4 separate regions of the Homo sapiens genome follow, and regions 1, 2 and 4 are each linked to region 3. Evidence: promoter capture Hi-C in human tissues and cell types (Jung and others, 2019). All regions are on one chromosome and are shown on one strand. The core of a region is centred on a gene start or on the middle of the fragment in contact, and the rest is flanking DNA. Distances in the headings are between cores, read along the strand shown. Region 1 has its middle 170 kb from the start of SLC16A9. Region 2 has its middle 140 kb from the start of SLC16A9. Region 3 holds the start of FAM13C (family with sequence similarity 13 member C). Region 4 overlaps LOC107984235 (a long non-coding RNA gene).

Evidence for each region. Contacts are between HindIII fragments. The study calls those that stand out against the background at their distance.
Region 1: a contact is called between a fragment that was not itself captured here and the fragment with the promoter of FAM13C in region 3, in 1 of the 25 tissues and cell types used here (mesenchymal stem cells).
Region 2: a contact is called between a fragment that was not itself captured here and the fragment with the promoter of FAM13C in region 3, in 4 of the 25 tissues and cell types used here (dorsolateral prefrontal cortex, heart right ventricle, hippocampus and 1 more).
Region 4: a fragment that was not itself captured here is called in contact with the fragment with the promoter of FAM13C in region 3 in 2 of the 25 tissues and cell types used here (IMR-90 fibroblasts and spleen).

What each region holds. Positions count from the first base shown.
Region 1 is chr10:59,541,436-59,544,429 of GRCh38, reverse strand. No RefSeq gene overlaps it. Among named protein-coding and RNA genes, the nearest start is that of SLC16A9, 170 kb to the left of the region's middle. The HindIII fragment of the contact is 5,622 bases long and covers 1-2,994 here.
Region 2 is chr10:59,565,724-59,568,963 of GRCh38, reverse strand. No RefSeq gene overlaps it. Among named protein-coding and RNA genes, the nearest start is that of SLC16A9, 140 kb to the left of the region's middle. The HindIII fragment of the contact is 8,599 bases long and covers 1-3,240 here.
Region 3 is chr10:59,360,682-59,363,884 of GRCh38, reverse strand. It overlaps FAM13C (family with sequence similarity 13 member C), which reads left to right and starts at 1,336. Exons shown (of 14, transcript NM_198215.4): 1 at 1,336-1,486. The coding sequence starts at 1,425. It overlaps LOC124902428 (a long non-coding RNA gene), which reads right to left and starts at 1,986. Exons shown (of 2, transcript XR_007062148.1): 1 at 1,502-1,986; 2 at 371-817. The HindIII fragment of the contact is 7,624 bases long and covers 1-2,513 here.
Region 4 is chr10:59,513,384-59,516,522 of GRCh38, reverse strand. The region is part of intron 1 of LOC107984235 (a long non-coding RNA gene); the gene reads left to right. Among named protein-coding and RNA genes, the nearest start is that of FAM13C, 150 kb to the right of the region's middle. The HindIII fragment of the contact is 9,242 bases long and covers 1-3,139 here.

The sequences.
Region 1 (2,994 bases), core at 73-2,572, 180 kb before region 3:
GCAGGTGGCCTTTTTTGCTTAACTATATAGTTGGCTTTGCTGTTTTTTTTCTCTTATGACGTGTGGGAATTGGTTTGGATAGTTAGGCAAACTTTCAAGCAATTATTTTAGTGGGGTGAAGAGAAACTACTTTAGAACTGTTGTGAGTTCAGAAAAATATAAATGCTTTTAGGTTTATTTTGCTTACTTTCAAAATAAAAGCATTTTTATTGAGTCCTTTAGGAAAAATGTATATTCCTATAACCAGGTTGCAGAACAACATAGAAGACTACCAATGAGAAAATGGTCATTTTGTGGGGTATTTTTTTTTTTTTTTTTTTTTTTTTTGCTACTAGAAATGTTTCATAATCTTTGAGATATAACACTACTGGGGAGGTTTTATATCTTTTTATTCTAGAAAGTGATTGAAGACCATAAGAAGAACCAGGTAGGCTTCATATATCCTTTATATGTCTATAATTGGATATTATTGATAATAAGACTGAAACTTTGTCTAATTTATATCTAATTGTAATTCTAACACTTGGCATACCCTACTCCTATGGAATTTGGCCATCAGGGCAAAGTTACGTAAACAACAGAGAAGGTACAAAATAAATCAGGATATATGTGGTCCCTATTAATATCTACCCTTGTGTAAACAGGGAATTTGAACTTTATTTTTTTTTCCGTTCTTACCTGAAGAACTGGGAAGGGAATGATTTTGTGGTGCAGTGTTTATATACTTCAGCAACCTCTGCTCCTAGAGGGAATTCACCAGGTCTAGGAGAATGTCAGAGCACTGTTTTATCTGAGAACAAATGTTAAAGAAATGTCTTACTATAGCTGAAATAAAATCTGAAAATCACTTTCAATCTTTTTCTAACTTTATTTTTTTATTAAGTCTCCTAGGTGGAACAACATGAATCTCTGATTAGCTACATGAAAATGCTAACTTCTTGTGGAAGTATATTAGTTTCTTGACTCCAAAACTTCCCAAAAAATATACAATGAAATCTACAGAAACTGAGGCTAAAATTCTATGCTTTATTCTGCTGTTTGATCTTTTCTTCTTACCAATCCTCAAAGTAGAGCTTAAATCCATCATCATTATCCATTTCTGCTTCACTTAAACATTTATTGACCACTGAGGGACGCACAGGAATATGATATAAAACACAATCCTTTAAGTAAATTATTTTACAATTTAGTTGGGGAGTAGTTGTACCGGGTTGGATAATGTTCTCAAATTCATGCTTTTCCTGGAATATTAGAATGTGAATTTTATTTGGAAATAGGGTAATTGTAGATGTAATTAGGTACAATGTGGTCATACTGGAGTAGGGTGGACCTGTATTCCAGTATGACTGGTGTCATTATGACACAAAGAGAAGAGACACAGAGACAAAAAACATTGGAAGGATGCATGTGAAGATGGAGGTGGAGACTGGAATGATGTGCCTGCAAGCCAAATAACCGCAGGGTTTACTGTCAACACCAGAAGCTCAGAGAAACACATGGAACAAATTTTCCTCTAGAGCCTATAAAGACAGTGTGAGTCTGCCTACACCTTGATTTTGGGTTTTTAGACCCCAGAACTGTGAGAGAATACATTGCTGTTATTTTAAGCTATCAAGTTTGTGGTTCTTGCTTATAGCAGCCATAGGAAACTAATATAATAGTCATAAAAATAAAGCTGTTATTATTAAATACTGCGATGTTCCAGGTTCTGGTTCTTTGAGTTCCTTCCCACTCTAAGGTATTACTAGGTGTTATCACTATTGTCCCCAGAAGAGCAAATGGAGAGTCAGAGAAGCCTAACAACTTGTTAATGTCACTCTGCAAGTAGCTCCAACCCTTGTCAGTTTGTCTCCATGGACCAGTCTCTTCAATACGGGAGGACGGCCCATATAAGCAGGCAGAAGGCAAAATGAGAGGCAAGAAGGGAGTAGGCCCCCAAGCTGGGAATAGTCCAGATGTTCACGAATAGCAGTGGTACATTGTGAATTGTGGTACATCCATGTGATGGAATACTACTCAGCAATACTAGAGCAAACATCTATAGCATGCAACAGTATGGATGAATCTTAAATGCAATATTCTGAGTGAAACAAGCCATACACAAGAGAGTGCATACTATATGATTCCAATTATATGAACTCGTAGAATACGCAGAACTAACCTATGGTGAAAAAACTTGAAAAGGTGATTGCCTATTGTGTGGAAGATGGTTTGCTGGAAACTGGGCACTGAGGTCCCCATTCGGTGGTTCAGGGTGGCAGTAGCCTGCTCCCTGCTCTGGGTACCCATATATGTCCACACAACTGGGAGTGGAAGAGCCTGTAAATGTCACAGGATCAGGTATGAAACAGTCCCATGTGCCAGTTTTGCTGGCCATTGCTTCTTTTCTTTTTTTTTTTTTTTATACTTTAAGTTTTAGGGTACATGTCCACAATGTGCAGGTTAGTTACATATGTATACATGTACCATGCTGGTGTGCTGCACCCATTAACTCATCATTTAGCATTAGGTATATCTTCTAATGCTAACCCTCCTCCCTCCCCCCACCCCACAACAGTCCCCAGAGTGTGATGTTCCCCTTCCTGTGTTCATGTGTTCTCATTGTTCAGTTCCTATCTATGAGTGAGAACATGCGGTGTTTGGTTTTTTGTCCTTGCGATAGTTTACTGAGAATGATGATTTCCAATTTCATCCATGTCCCTACAAAGGACATGAACTCATCATTTTTTATGGCTGCATAGTATTCCATGGTGTATATATGCCACATTTTCTTAATCCAGTCTATCACTGTTGGACATTTGGGTTGGTTCCAAGTCTTTGCTATTGTGAATAGTGCCGCAATAAACATACGTGTGCATGTGTCTTTATAGCAGCATGATTTATAGTCCTTTGGGTATATACCCAGTAATGGGATGGCTGTGTCAAATGGTATTTCTAGTTCTAGATCCCTGAGGAATCGCCACACTGACTTCCACAAGGGTTGAACTAGTTTAC
Region 2 (3,240 bases), core at 586-3,085, 200 kb before region 3:
ATCCAATAAAGGACTTGAGTTTAGGATATATAAAGAACCTTTGCAACTCAGTAATGAGAAGGCTGAAAACCCAACTAAAAAATAGACAAAGGCTAGGCATGGTGGCTCCCACTTGTAATCCCAGAAGAAGGATTGCTTGAAGCCAGGAGTTCAAGACCAGCCTGGGCAATGTAGCTAGACACCATCTCTACAAAATGAAAATAAAATAAAAAACTAGCCAGAGATGGTGGTGTGTACCTGTAGTACTAGCTACTTGGGAGGCTGAGGTGGGAACTTTGCTTGAGTGCAGGAGTTTGAGGACATGGTGAGCTGCACTCTCTGTATTCCAGCCTGGGCAGCAGAACAACATCTTCTTAAAAAAAAAAAAAAAAAGATTTCCACAGATATTTCACCAAGAAAAAAAAAAAAGGAAAAAAGAATAGTAAGTTAGCACATGTAAGCACATGGAAAGATCCTCATTATCATTAGTGATTACAGAAATATAGATTAAACCCACAATGAGATCCACTTCATGCCCTCTAAAATGATTGCAATAAAAAAGACAATACCAAGTAGTAGTGAGGAAGATACCGGCAGCCTCACATATTGCCTAGTGAATTGTAAAATGGTACACCTGGTACTTTCTTAAAATGTTAAACATACAAGCACCATGTGCCTCAGTAATAACACTCCCCCAGATAGCTACCCAAGAGAAACAAAAATACATGCTTATATATGCTTACATAAAGACCCATGGTAGGACTATTTATAATAGCTCCAAGCTGAAAAAAACTAACAAATATCCATTAACTAATGAAATAAACATATGTAGTTATGTCCATACAATGGAAGATTATTCAGCAATGAAAATAAATACATAAAACAGTATGGATGAACCTCAAAAACATTATACTAACTGAAAAATAGCCAAGTACCAAAGGATACATAGTGTATGATTCCATTTATATGAAATTTCTGGGGAAGGCAAAAACTGTAGAGGCAAAAAGATCAGTAGTTGGCTAGGGCAAGGAGAGGGAGCAGAGACTAATTGTGGTGATGGTTGCACAATTGTATAGTTTTTGTAAAACTAATCAGGTACACTTAGGATGGGTAAATTTTATGATGTATAAATTCTATCTTCAAAAAGTGGGTAAAAATAAAACAAATTAGTAGATACATATGTGAATGAAACAAAAGTAGCCAATGCTTGGCAATTGTAGAATCTAAGTGTTAGGTATATTAATGTCCACCATACAATTTTGTTTGTTTGTTTTTTGTTTCTTGTTTTTCAAGATGGAGTCTTGCTCTGTCACCCAGGCTGGAGTGCAGTGGCGTGATCTCGGCTCACTGCAAACTCCACCTCCCAGGTTTGCGCCATTCTCCTGCCTCAGCCTCCTGAGTAGCTGGGACTACAGGCGCCTGCCACCACGCCTGGCTAATTTTTGTATTTTTAGTAGAGACGAGGTTTCACCGTGTTAGCCAGGATGGTCTTGATCTCCTGACCTTGTGATTCGCCCGCCTCAGCCTCCCAAAGTGCTGGGATTACAGGCATGAGCCACCGCACCCGGCCAACAAATTTTAAAACTTTTCTGTCTGTTAAAGGCCTTCGACAAAATTGAACAGCCCTTCATGCTAAAAACTCTCAATAAACTAGGTATTGATGGGATGTATCTCAAAATAATAAGAGCTATTTATGACAAACCCACAGCCAATATCATACTGAGTGGGCAAAAACTAGAAGCATTCCCTTTGAAAACTGGCGCAAGACAGGGTTGCCCTCTCTCACCACTCCTATTCAACATACTGTTGGAAGTTCTGGCCAGGGCAATCAGGCAGGAGAAAGAAATAAAAGGTATTCAATTAGGAAAAGAGGAAGTCAAATTGTCCCTGTTTGCAGATGACATGATTGTATATTTAGAAAACCCCATCATCTCAGCCCAAAATCTCCTGAAGCTGAGAAGCAACTTCAGCAAAGTCTCAGAATACAAAATCAGTGTGCAAAAATTACAGGCATTCCTATACACCAATAACAGACAAACAGAGAGCCAAGTCATGAGTGAACTCCCATTCACAATTGCTTCAAAGAGAATAAAATACCTAGGAATCCAACTTACAAGGGATGTGAAGGACCTCTTCAAGGAGAACTACAAACCACTGCTCAACAAAATAAAAGAGGACACAAACAAATGGAAGAACATTCTATGCTCATGGATAGGAAGAATCAATATCGTGAAAATGGCCCTACTGCCCAAGGTAATTTATAGATTTAATGCCATCCCCATCAAGCTACCAATGACTTTCTTCACAGAATTGGAAAAAACTACTTTAAAGTTCATATGGAACCAAAAAAGAGCCCCCAGTGTCAAGACAATCCTAAGCAAAAAGAACAAAGCTGGAGGAATCACGCTACCTGACTTCCAGCTATACTACAAGGCTACAGTAACCAAAACAGCATGGTACTGGTACCAAAACAGAGACGAATGGAACAGAACAGAGCCCTCAGAAATAATACCACACATCTACAACCATCTGATCTTTGACAAACCTGACAAAAACAAGCAATGTGGAAAGGATTCCCTATTTAATAAACGGTGCTGGAAAAGCTGGCTAGACATATGTAGAAAGCTGAAACTGGATCCCTTCCTTACACCTTGTATAAAAATTAATTCAAGATGGATTAAAGACTTAAATGTTAGACCTAAAACTATAAAAACCCTAGAAGAAAACCTAGGCAATACCATTCAGGACATAGGCACGGGCAAGGACTTCATGTCTAAAACACCAAAAGCAATGGCAACAAAAGCCAAAATTGACAAATGGGATCTAATTAAACTAAAGAGCTTCTGCACAGCAAAAGAAACCACCATCAGAGTGAACAGGCAACCAACAGAATCAGAGAAACTTTTTGCAATCTACCCATCAGACAAAGGGCTAATATCCAGAATCTACAAAGAACTGAAACGATTTACAAGAAAAAACCAAACAACCCCATAAAAAGTGGGCAAAGAATATAAACAGACACTTCTCAAAAGAAGACATTTATGCAGCCAACAGACACATGAAAAAATGCTCATCATCACTGGCCATCAGAGAAATGCAAATCAAAACCACAATGAGATACCATCTCACACCAGTTAGAATGACGATCATTAAAAAGTCAGGAAACAATAGGTACTGGAGAGGATGTGGAGAAATAGGAACACTTTTACACTGTTGGTGGGACTGTAAACTAGTTCAACCATTGTGGAAGACAGTGTGGGA
Region 3 (3,203 bases), core at 87-2,586:
ACGCTGCGATTATCTTTTTCTCTGAACAGGCTGAATAAAATGTGCAAGTGACCACAGAACTTCACTGTGGCTGGAATCTAATCAATAGTGAAGAGCAAAGCCAAACACAACTGGAGAATTAACTGGCCCCTGGGTGGACTTGTTAACCGATGTCTCAGTTTGACATTGAAAGGTCATGCTCTTCCCCATTATTTCCAAGTTTTGGTAAAGTTTTTAATTGCCCAATTAGAAAAATTATGAGTTTTTTGTTGTTATGTTAACTCATTAACTTACATAGGTTTGGACTAAAAACCACTATCCTAGCTGCTTCTGGGAGTAGAAAGATTAAAAAGGGGGATGGGAATCTTATTTCAAAATTCAAATAAAATAATTCAAATTCAAATAAGAATCTTTAATAGATGCTACATCCCATATCCAGGTCAACATGGCAGGAGAAATGAACAATACAAAGAGGGCAGAACAAATATCCCCAAGGGAAAGAAGCCAGTGGGGGGACTGACAGTCTTTCCTTTCCCTAACAAGGCTGCCTTTATTCAAAGGGATAGCGTTTGCGGATTCCGTCTCTCCATCCTTTGTAAAGGTGCTAGCTAGGGAGCTGAGCTCAAGCGGGCTGCTCTAGGCATAGCAAGCCCCACCCCTTGCACGGTGTCCTAATCACCAGCTAACCCCTGGAATAAATTCTCCACTCGCCCTGCGTGGGTTCATTCACAGCTCTGTAGTCCGGGGCTGGGCGCTTCCTCTCTGGGACTGAAATAAGAGCGCTCTAGACAGATCAGGTGTGATGCAGCCAGCCCTGCTTTAGAGCCTATTCTTTTTCCTAGGCAACAAAAAACACACACACAAAATAAAACACCAAACAGCAGCAATATCCCCCTCCCCCTTCTTGTTCTCTCCTGACTTTTTCTGAACGATGGATGAATCTCTGCGAGCCTCCATCCCTGGGGGTGGGGTGGGAGTGTGGGGGGTTGGGGTGAGCTCTGTAAAATTGGTAGGAGACATGTGGAAGAAAGCAAGTCTCCCGGGTATTTCAGCACTTCGGCAGAAACACTGGGGCATTCTCATTGCCAGCCTCGGGGGGTGGCTGGCACAAAGAGCCCAAGATTAAACGCGGCGCCTGGGCTGGCGAGGTCGGGGTCGTGTGGTAACTCTCCAGGTGCTCCTCGCTGGATCCCGGGGTCCCAGCCCCGCCGCCGCGCCCCGCCCAGCTCTGTCCCCGCAGCCTCGCGGGCTGCCGGGCTTTGTGGTTCGCCCGTGCCGCTGGGCCCCTGCTGGGGGTGTCGTTACGAGCATGTGCAGACAGCAGCCCAAGGTAGAGCGAGCGTGCCGGGCGAGCCCGGAGACTTGCCTTGCAATGCCATGTTTGTGTATGTGCTCTAACTCCCGGAGAGCAATCAGGGAGACGGCTCCCCGGCCAGACTTGGCTGATGTTTTCTTGTTTCTGTTTCAGCCTTCAGGATAATTCCTTCAGCAGCACCACTGTAACAGAGTAAGTGATTCTTACCATTAAAATTAGACTTGCATGCCTTTCTCTGGAAGCAACTATCGTGAAGGTATCCTCCACCGTTCCCAGCCGCTGTTCGTTTTAGATGCATTGTCTCCCGGAATCTGGGGCTGTGAAGACCGTGAGACGTGCTGACTGGTGGGGCCCAGAAATCTTTACAGGTTGAAACCAGCATTTTAGCAGCTGCGGGAGAGAAATTAAAACCAGCTGATTGCTTGCAGGAGCTCAGTGCTCCAAGATATGTGTTCTTGGAGCTCAGATTTTTAAAAATCCATTTGATGTGTTAGGAAGCTTTGTTGTATTTTGCCAACATTGGTGTCAGTTTTCATGGAGTGCACACTATATACATTTACAGCAATAGAAGATAGATGTGAAATGAGCTGAATTCCAGCATGTGGTAAACAGGCTAAACTTATCTTGGCCCTCTCTTGTCTACAGATTTTTAAGGCATATCAGAGTAAACTTTTTGTGCATGCCCTTTGTCATGTTTGTCTTCTGACTACAGAGATGTGACTATGGGACGAATGAGTCACCTAGTCCTATGGTTAAAGCTGTTGATTAGGGCAACTAACACCCTTCAAACATGGAATGAAGGAGTGTGAATGAAGGAGCGTACCAGCAAGCACAGTATTTTTTTAAAGATATTTATATGCTATAGTTTTAATTTTTGACATCCCTTCCTTAATGTTTTCCTAATATTATACTATATTTGTTAAAAATTAACAGGTAGTGTATTTTGCTAATACTGTATGTAATTTATATATACATATATATATATGAATATGTACTTCATCTAGCATTCTTTCTCTAGGCTAATTCATGATGTTTACTTCTGGGACCTTTGTAGAAGCCACTCTAAACATCTTTTCAGGAAAAAGGCATGTGTAAAGTTGTATCCTCAACTACATTTAAAAAATGTTATGAGTTTGATGTAGAAGGCTTAACTAACTGGGGAGCTGTTTGCTAAAATTCCCTAAAAAGCAAATAAATGTTTTGCTTTTGGCTTCCAAGTCCTGCCACTATCACAATGACTTGGTGAGGGAGGGATAAGGTTTACAGTGCTTCCTAGGCCCTCTTGTTTTCCACATTCTTTTGTTTCTCTCTTTTGCTGTGCTGCTCCTTTAGTGTCCAGTTTTGAGCAGACTTAAGTGGAGTCACTTAAAAAAAAAAACAGGATTGACTTTAGAAGAAGCAATGTAAAATACTCATTTGGACCCACATTCTGTTTATAAGATTGCTTGGTAACCTGTGCTGCAATGTTGCTTTTCTAAAGGCCTGAGAGAAGGGGAGAGAGGTGTGCCAAAGTGTGCATCTGCAGGCCGAAGATGAGGCCTGGACTTCCTGCTCCAGGTGCACAGGTACTGCTCTCCTCCCTTTGCTGTGCTTAAAGTACTAAGTGCTTTCTGGCCCCGATTCTCAGGAGCCTGGTGTGGCCAAATCCTCGGTCAGTCACAGGCACGGCAGGTTCAAAATGGAGACACTTAGCTCCAGATTTCACGTGGACTTTTTTTTTTTTTTTTTTTTTTTTTTCTGTAGAGGTTTCGTGGTTAAATGCTGGGGAGAGCCTGGTGCCTTGTCTTTGGACACTCCCCAAGGAGTTCTGATTGCATAAGATCATGTTTTTACTTTCAGAGGAGTGACAGTGATTTATTTTAAAAGGCACTGAGAGATAATTGGTATGCCATTTGGCTAATATAAAAAT
Region 4 (3,139 bases), core at 116-2,615, 150 kb before region 3:
CTATCATCATGATAGAGCAAAGGAATTGTTAATAGTCACAAGGAGATATATATATATATATAAATATATATAAAATATATATAAATATATATAAAATATATATAAATATATATAAAATATGTATATAAAAATATATAAATATATAAAATATATATATAAAATATATATAAATATATAAATATATATAAATATATATAATATATATATAAAATATATATAAAAATATATATATAAATATATAAAATATATATAAATATATAAATATATATCAAATATATATACTATATAAATATATAAAATATATATAAATATATAAATATATAAATATATATCAAATATATATATACTATATATAAATATATATAGTATATATATAAATATATATAAATATATATACAATATATATAAATATATATACTATATATATAAGTAAATATACATATATTCATTAAAACATGTAGTTTCTATACTATAGTCTTTTACTTAAACAAAAAAGAAAAGCCTGCAGTGGAGCTCAGGATAAAATACAAACTACAAAGAGAAATAGAAGTGAAGGACACACTCAGGTGGCCCAGAGGTCTTGTCTTTGAGCATCTATTGATTACTGGAGCTGCTGTGCCTGATATTCACCTGAACCTCTGCTTTAGTACCAAAGAGTGGGGGCCATTCTGAACTTGTCTGAATTATTAGGTTGCTGCAAGAGTAATTGCTCTTTTTGCCATTAAGAATAATTGCAAAAACTGATATTACATTTGCACCAATCTAATACTTGCTTTCCTTCTGTTCTTGCCTACCTCCAACAGGGAGGGCTTGGGGCACTGCTCTTCTGAGTCCTAATCACACATATATTTATTTTATTAGTCTCCTGTAGTCATTCCTGTCTCTTGTGAGTATGAATCTCAGTCCAAAAACTCAGCTTGGAATGCAACTTTAGGCTAACATGATAGTAATTCTGAGCCTCTAGCCCTGTAGTCAAGGGAGAAATTAAATTTCTGTCCCTACTGGGGTTCTCTCCTTAAGGAATTGCCCACTGACCCAGGGCCCTCTCCCTCTGATTGCTGGACACATTGGGGGAATGATGACCATTCCCTGCTGATAGTCCCAGGGCACTGCCAGGGGCTGCCCGCTGCTCCCCAGGCCTAGTGGTCTCTCTTCCCACTTGGCCCTCTGTGTCCCTAGAAATAGGAAGAATTACCTTCTTCTCTCTGGTGCCTTTTTTAGGGATGTTTGTTTCTCTCCCTCTAGGATACATCACATAGGCTTATACATGAGTTTAGGCTTCGGAAAATAACAGCCAGGAAGGGAAGGATCTTAGAGGCCATTTCTCTTCTTTCACCTAAAATTCCTTCTGGGTGGAAAGCACAGAGACTTCTTGTCTGTGGCTACTCCCCTTATCCTAATCTGATTTCTCAAGGCAAGAGTGACAGCAAATGGTGGTGGGGGAGCAACATGGAGACACCGACACTTGCTCCATTTCCAAAAGGCAGACACAACCTGTAAACCAAAAAGTGAGGAGATCTCAATACATTTAGAGATTTATTTTGCTAAGGTTGAGGACACACCTGGGAAAAAGAAACACAAATTACAGTAGAATCTGTAGCCTGTGCTTTTTCCAAAGAAGGTTTTGACAGCTTCAATATTTAAAGGGGAAAGAATGGGCAGAAAGGGAGGGAGGAAAGAGGGAAAAAAAGGGGGTTAGATAGTGAGACAAGCAGTTACATTCTTTGAGGCTTTGATTAGCAACCACTGAATCCACATTTTACACAAGAAAAGAGAGGATTGGGATAAAAAGTCAATTAGTCATTCATTTGTCTTGTGTTCTTTGCAGATCTACATTTTACATATGATAATGTAAACATGTGAAATTACAGCTGTCTCTTCGTTCAAAAGGAGGGTTTGTTTGCTTTTGTTTTTGTTGACTCAGTTTTGAAGCTTAACTTTTCCCTTTGGCATAGTGAGTTTGGGGTCCTGAGATTTTATTTTCCTTTTACAAACCCACATATCCATCGATGGATGGGTGGATAAATGCAACAGACGTATCCATACAATATAAATGGTATATTCATCCATAGAAAGGAATGAAGTACTGATATATGCTGCAACATGTATGAACCTTGAAAACATTATGCTAAGTGAAAGCAGCCAATTACAGAATATCTTATATCGTGTGATTACATTGAAATGAAATGTCCCGAATGGGCAAATCTATAGAGGCAGATAGGAGACTAGTGCTTGCCTCGGTTGAGGAGGTTGAGGGATGACTGATGAAAGATAAGGAGGTTATTCCTGTAGTGATGAAGATATTCTGAAACTGATTGTGGTCCTCATTGCACAGTCTTTGAATATACTGAAAAAGAAAGCTATTGAATTGTATAATATGTGAATTATACCCCAATAAAGCTATTATCAAGAAAAAAAAGGAGTAGGGCTGTAATTTGCTGATCCCAGATCTATGCACTAACTCAAAGAAATGAATGTTATCTTTTGGCCATATATTTTGTTAATGTTAATGCTTCTTCATCAGGTATTGCTGATAACTGGCTGTTCTTTCAAATTAATCACTTTCCTAGGATGCAAAACAATCATTTTCCAAGTATCTCTCACAATACTTGGGCCTTTGGCTTTCTCTACAGGTTCTTGAAAGAAAGGAGGGGTAATAATTTCAACTTATACCCATAGAGGTTACTCTGAATGCTGGAGCGCCTACTCTAATTTGCTACATTTGTGTGATTTTGATAATATCTAGACCATGAAGCATGAATCATGCAGCTGGAAGAGATCCTAGAAACAATCTAGCCCAGTGGATTTCAAACGTATTTAGTAGAATCTGGAGCTAGAGGGCAGGGGCCTCAGGCAACAGCAGGAGGGAACTGGGATGGGTGATAAATTGGTCAGGGTGGGCTCCTACCGTTTTTTCAGTCAGAGCAGCCCTGGTTTTATCTGATGTGTATGTTTGGCTTCAGCAAGATTTTATTTGAAGAATCCAGCAGCTAACAAATGTTTAAGACTCTTCTGATTTTTAGTTTTATAGAAAAAGGAAATGAGGCTCAGGGAAAAGACTTTTCAAAGTCTGTACATCCATTTGATGGCAGTGCAGGGTCTGGAATCATAGACTTCTAAGGATGGGCAGGGTGGTCGG